Regions from separate parts of the Homo sapiens genome. Here region 2 is linked to region 1. The links are contacts of gene promoters, found by promoter capture Hi-C in human tissues and cell types (Jung and others, 2019). All regions are on one chromosome and are shown on one strand. The core of a region is centred on a gene start or on the middle of the fragment in contact, and the rest is flanking DNA. Distances in the headings are between cores, read along the strand shown.

Region 1 (3,136 bases), core at 555-3,054:
CCAGGCAAGGGGCCCCTTCCCAGCTCCTCCTTGGCAGAGTAACATCTAGTGCCCCCACCCCTGTAGGTGCTGACCGCAGTGCGCCTACCCCTGCACCACGAACCAAGCACTAACTCCAAGCCAGCTCTCCCCATCGTGGGCTGACTCATCATCACCATGCAACTGGCCCCAACTAGGTTCTTAAAGCCCGCCCCACCCCACACCCCACAACCTAATTCTTCCCTGTGTGAGGGTCTGACTCCACCCAACACACACACACACACACACACACACACACACACACACACACACACACTCCTGTGTCTCTCTAGCTTATTTCAAAATCCAAATTAGGGTTGGGGCACTTCCCAAGGGGCTGGAAGGCGAGGTCAATGTCAATGCCAGCTCTGGTCTGAGAGGGCAAAGGACGTAGAAAAAGAAGGCTCTGCTTTCTGAATTACTAGGGAGGATGGGGGAGTATTACTACCGAGGAAAGGCTAATTTCCTCCCAGTGGACCGCTGACAGCACTAGGGCTGGGGCTGGGGTCGCAGTGGGGCGGCGGCTGGCATCGGATCTCCGCTCACAGCACGGAGGCAGCCTCTCTAGGTGCCCGCTCCGAGAAAGCCAGGCAGAGTCCCCGCCGGCTGGCGCCGTCACTGCCTTGGAACACGCGGGCTCTGCTCGAGTCCTGGGCTGACCTACGGTGGAGATGAGGGGCAGTGCTCCCGGGTGCCAGCTCCTGGGGGCAGCCAGCACCGCTCGTAGCGGACCAGTTCCAGGGCCAGGAAGGCGAAGCGAGAGCCGCAAAAGGCTCCCGGCTCCTCGAGGGGCGCGTCTTCCCATAGCTGGACCGAATTTGGGAGGATGTGTAAGTCCCCTGGGGTCTCCCGCGGGCACAGGGACTTGATGAGGGGAGGGGAGAACTACGTGCCTTTAGTTCCCCTCAGCGCCTCTGCCCAGCCCGCAGTAGGGGTGCGCCCCACCCCATCCCCACTGTCCAAATGGGGACCCAGGGCTCAGAAGGGGAGGGGATTGGATCCCAACGCGCTCCACTCTCGAAAATCTCTCCACCCCAGACCTGGACCCTCTCCGTAGCGCCGAGAGCAAAGCCCCCAAATGTTCGCGGTCCCAGGACCGGGGATGGGGGATGGGATGCCTGTCCTCCCAAGGCCAACGCGAATGGAATTCGAGTTCCCAGGAATCAAAGTTGCCGCGCGTCGGGGAGCTCGGAGCGGGGCGCGAGGCTAGGGCCAGGGGCCTGGGACCGAAGGATGCCGCGAGCGCCCGCCACGGGCGATGGCCGCGCTGGGAACAAGTGGTTCGGCAGCCGCGGTCACCACCAACTTCCCCGCCGCGCGGCGGGCGAACGGCGAGGGGAAGGAGAGGGAAGCGAGGAGGGAAGAGGCGGTGCGTGGCTCCGGGTACCGTGTGCGTGTGTGCAGCGGCGCCGCGCCTCGCCTCGCCTCGGGCTCTGCTCTCCGCCGGATCGGCCCCCGCGGGCCGCCTGCTCTGGCCCTGGCCACCGCCGCGTCTTCCCGCCGGCGCGAAGGCTCATCCGCGGCGTGCCGGCAGCTCCTGGGTCTCCGCGGGCCGCTCGCCGCTCGCCGCTCGCCGCTCGCAACTTCAGGCGCGCCGGGGGCTCGGACTGGGCGCGCCCCAAACGTCCAGAGGCTCTGCCACCCCGCGCTCCATGCCCAGGCCGGGCTGACTAGCCCCGACCACCTCAGCGTCCGGCCGCCGTCGGACGCGTCCTCTAGCCAAGCATCGCGCCTGCAGCCCGCGTCCCTCTCTCCCGAGCCGCCGCCGCCGCTCAAGTCCGCGATCAACTTTCCCTTGCTTCCCCCGCCCCGCTCGGCCCCCGCCCCGCTCGGCCCCCGCCGTCCAGACCCCGCCTCCCGCAGCTCCCTCCCTCACCTCCCGCCTCGCCCGGCCCCCGCCCGCCCGCCCGCGCTCGGCGCTCCCCCACCCCTCAGGCCGCCAGGACCCCCGAGCTCCCGCCCGGCCCCGCCCGGACCCCCGGGAGCGGCGCCGAGCCCCGCCGGGCGCTCAGGGCATGAATATTTCAGTGCTGGCGAAGCTGCCCTCTGCCGATGTCATGGCACCGGCTGCTGTGGCAACTCTACGAATCCCCCAAAGGGGCAGGGAGGAAGCCCGCGGAAGAGGCCCCAGGTGCGAGACAGAGCAGTGCCCCGCCAGGCCGCCAGCCGTCCCGCAGAGGGGCGCGCAGGGGGATGGGGCCCCCAGCGTCTCGTCCGCCCCGCGCCTCAGGCAGAGCGAGGTAACGCTCCCGGGAAGCCCGGGCGGGCGAGCGGGCGCTCGGCCTAGGTGAGCCCGCGCCATCTGTTGGCTTTAAGCGCCCCCTCTCTGCTCCCAGAGTCGCTGAGCAGTCCCTCTAGTCCTTGGGGCCTCTTGGCCTACGCTTCTCTCCAACCAGCTGCCTTTGCCCACCCGACTCGTGCGCTCCCATCTGCGCCTCCTCCCTCACTAGAGCTCAAGAGGCCTCCAAGTGCTTAGAAATGGAGGACCCCGGGTTGGAGGAGACCCGTGAGGTCACTTAGGCGCCCTCACCCCTGCGGGAGCTCCGTCTGCAGTGCCCGAGTCATGGTCTCCCGGCTCCTTTTTGCACACCTATAGGGACAGAGACTTTATGGCTTTCTGAGACAGCTGGATCAAGAAAGGGTCCATATGCAGGTAATGGAAGAGGTTTATCCCCTACCTTTGATCTTTACTTCCCCGGGGCTAAGCATTCTGATTTTTTAAAACTATTTCTCACATGACAGGATTTCCGAGCTGTCACTGTTCCAGTCAGTACATTGACAGTACCTGCCTGGAGCCAGGCTCTGGGCTGAGACTTTCTGGGCCTCAACTCATTCTATCTTCAATAAAGTCTTTCTGGTGGGCCCTGCCATTATCCCAGTTTTACAGTGAGAAACAGGCTTTAGGAGGTTGGGGACTTGCCCCTGTGGTGGAGTCGGGTATTGAACCCAGAATCTATCTGGTTCCAAAGCTCCAGTTCCTTACCATTCGCTCATTCATTATTCATTCATTCATTCACAGTCACTGCTATGTGCTAGCTAACTGAAATAGTTTCTAGGAATAGGATGGAGAACAAAACAGGCTTGGTCTTTGTGCCCCATGAAGCTTCTCTAGTAGGGG
Region 2 (3,070 bases), core at 475-2,974, 480 kb before region 1:
ACATCAGAGGAGATGGCCCAGGTGCAGCCATGTGCGGTGGCTGCGGAGGCAACAGTGAAGATGACAATGATTGCTGACATTTAAGAAGTCCCCAGAGACAGCAGGGATAATGAGTAGGAAAAAACTCTGAGGGCAGGGGCTATGTCATACCCTCCTCTCCATACCCAGCACCAAGCCCATAGAGTGCAGTGGCGGGCTCTCAGCCACAGCGGCTGAGGAAGTGGTTGCGTCTGCATCGGCCTGCAGTGGACTGCCGGGGCAGGAAGAAGAACTAGCTTGTCTTTCACGGAGTCTTGTGTCCTTAAACCCAGATAAAGCGGCCTAGAGACAGTGAGAGAACAATGAGGGTTGTTGCAGACTAAAGCCGGGCCCTGGGCAATGTTTGGCCTCTGCCTGGGCCTCGGGCCCCACCCCCCATGTCCCCGGGCCCCACCCCCCAGGTCCCCGGGCCCCACCCCCCAGGTCCCCTTCCAGAACTTCACCAGTCTTGCCGGCCTCTCAGAGAGTCAGCCAACCCCTGAGGCCTTTCGGGGACTGATAACGCTCACCTTTGGCTCAGACTGAATCCAAACACTTCACCTCTTTTTCTTCACAGAGCCCCATCCTCCAAAGGACCCTGTTCCAGCTTGTGACAAACCCAGAGGCAATCCTGGTCATCCGGAGGAGGAGGTGTCTGTGCCGTTGCTTGGAGCTGACTGTAGGCCTAGAGGCACAGGATTATACAGGATTGTAAGAGAATTGTATTTTTCTTCCTTGCATTTTTCGGTGTTTTCTAAATTTTTTCAATGAGTATCCTTTTGAGAATCATTAAAAAAGAATACATTTTACTTGACAAGGTATATAAATACATGGGTTAAGATATTAAAATAGAAAGAGTAAGGATTGCTTGCACGTTACAGAGTCTGGGATTTGGAGCTCAGTGCCTGGCACTGAGGGGATCAAAGTGCCAGGTGCTCAAAGTGTTCGTTGAATGAGAGGCGGGGGTGGGGGTAATGGGTGGTGAGACTGCTACCCTGTCCCTCCTCCCTCACCACATCAATGTCTGTGAAGCATTTCTAGAGGATCTACTGTGCAATGGAACCCTGGGAGCCAGGGGTGACTGGGGAGGCAGCAGGTGCAGGTGCTGGTAATGCCGTGCCATTGGGAGCCCCACTGGGGGTCCTCCATGAATCACAGGGGACCCATACCCAGGATACTGAGGAAGCTTCCAGAAAAAAAGAGTGATGCTGGCCCTGGATTGTGAGGATGGGCAGGGGTTTTTTGGAGTGGGAGAAGGGTACAGGTGTTCCAGGTCATCAGTCCAAGTTCCTTCACTCCTTCATTATTTACTTGCTCAGTCATTTCACAAACAACCTTTTTTAAAATAATTAGACAGGGGTCTCACTATGTTGCACAGGCTGGTCTCTCACTCCTGGGCTCTGGCGGTCCTCCCGCCTTGGCCTCTGAAAGCGCTGGGATTGCAGGTGTGAGCCACCATGCCCAGCCTCACAAACATTTATCTGCAGTCCAAACTGGATCCAAACTCTCCTCACCGCACCTCTGTTTCTGGAGAATGCTTCCAGGGCGCCTAGAATATACCAGGTCCTGACCTAGTGACTAGAGATACAGCTGCCACTCATAAATAAACATATGCTAGCATGGCAAGAAGAAAAGATGGCAGGATGGCAGAGAGAAAGCTGCTAGGGAGCAGATGCAGAATGAATATCTGGAGCAGGAGCAAAGGGCAAGAGCCTCCAGACTGGGGGGAAACGACCTGGGCATGCTCAAAGGCAAAAGAGGCCACTGGAGATGTGTGAACAGCAAATGGTGTGATCTGATTGGGATCGTAAAGGATCACTTCCACACAACAGTGATCACACTTTGTCCACAGGCACCCTTTAAAAAACCCCTTTCAAATTTTTTTTTTTTTTTTTTGAGATGGACTCTCACTCTGTCACCCAGGCTGGAGTGCAATGGCACGACCTCGGCTCACTGCAACCTCCACTTCCCAGGTTCAAGCGATTCTCCTGCCTTAGCCTCCTGAGTAAGTGGGATTACAGGCACCTGCCACCATACCCGGCTAATCGTTATAGTTGCAGTAGAGACGGGGGTTTCACCATGTTGGCCAGGCTGGTCTCGAACTCCTGACCTCAGGTGATCCGCCCTCCTTGGCCTCCCAAAGTGCTGGGATTACAGGCATGAGCAAATGTGCCTGGCCCCTTTGAAATTTTTATCATTAGCCTAAACTTGCAAATGATGCATTTGGTGGTTTGCTGTAGACTGTATATCATCTTTAAATATTTTTTCCGCTCCCGCTCCCGCTCCCTCTCCCTCTCCCTCTCCCCACGGTCTCCCTCTCCCTTTCTTTCCACAGTCTCCCTCTGATGCCGAGCCGAAGCTGGATGGTACTGCTGCCATCTCGGCTCACTGCAACCTCCCTGCCTGATTCTCCTGCCTCAGCCTGCCGAGTGCCTGCGATTGCAGGCGCGCGCCGCCACGCCTGACTGGTTTTCGTATTTTTTTGGTGAAGACAGGGTTTCGCTGTGTTGGCCGGGCTGGTCTCCAGCTCCTAACCGCGAGTGATCCGCCAGCCTCGGCCTCCCGAGGTGCCGGGATTGCAGATGGAGTCTCGTTCACTCAGTGCTCAACGGTGCCCAGGCTGGAGTGCAGTGGCGTGATCTCGGCTTGCTACAACCTCCACCTCCCAGCCGCCTGCCTTGGCCTCCCAAAGTGCCGAGATTGCAGCCTCTGCCCGGCCGCCACCCCGTCTGGGAAGTGAGGAGCGTCTCTGCCTGGCCGCCCATCGTCGGGGATGTGAGGAGCCCCTCTGCCTGGCTGCCCAGTCTGGAAAGTGAGGAGCGTCTCTGCCTGGCCGCCATCCCATCTAGGAAGTGAGGAGCGCCTCTTCCCGGCCGCCATCACATCTGGGAAGTGAGGAGCGTCTCTGCCCGGCCGCCCATTGTCTGAGATGTGGGGAGCACCTCTGCCCTGACGCCCCGTCTGGGATGTGAGGAGCGTCTCTGCCCGGCCGCCCCGTCTGAGAAGTGAGGAGACCCTCTGCCTGGCAACCGCCCCGTCTGAGAAGTGAGGA

The links. The method cuts DNA at HindIII sites, captures the fragments that hold promoters and counts their contacts. A contact is called where the count stands out against the background at its distance.
Region 2: a contact is called between a fragment that was not itself captured here and the fragment with the promoter of CDH23 in region 1, in 1 of the 25 tissues and cell types used here (spleen).

The regions. Positions count from the first base shown.
Region 1 is chr10:71,395,588-71,398,723 of GRCh38, reverse strand. CDH23 (cadherin related 23) reads right to left here and starts at 1,804. Exons shown (of 70, transcript NM_022124.6): 1 at 1,406-1,804. RefSeq lists an enhancer at 1,001-1,512 and a silencer at 2,196-2,285. The HindIII fragment of the contact is 12,378 bases long and covers 1-3,136 here.
Region 2 is chr10:71,875,964-71,879,033 of GRCh38, reverse strand. LINC03139 (long intergenic non-protein coding RNA 3139) reads right to left here and starts at 947. Exons shown (of 2, transcript XR_007062186.1): 1 at 549-947; 2 at 1-321. RefSeq lists an enhancer at 2,157-3,037. The HindIII fragment of the contact is 7,970 bases long and covers 1-3,070 here.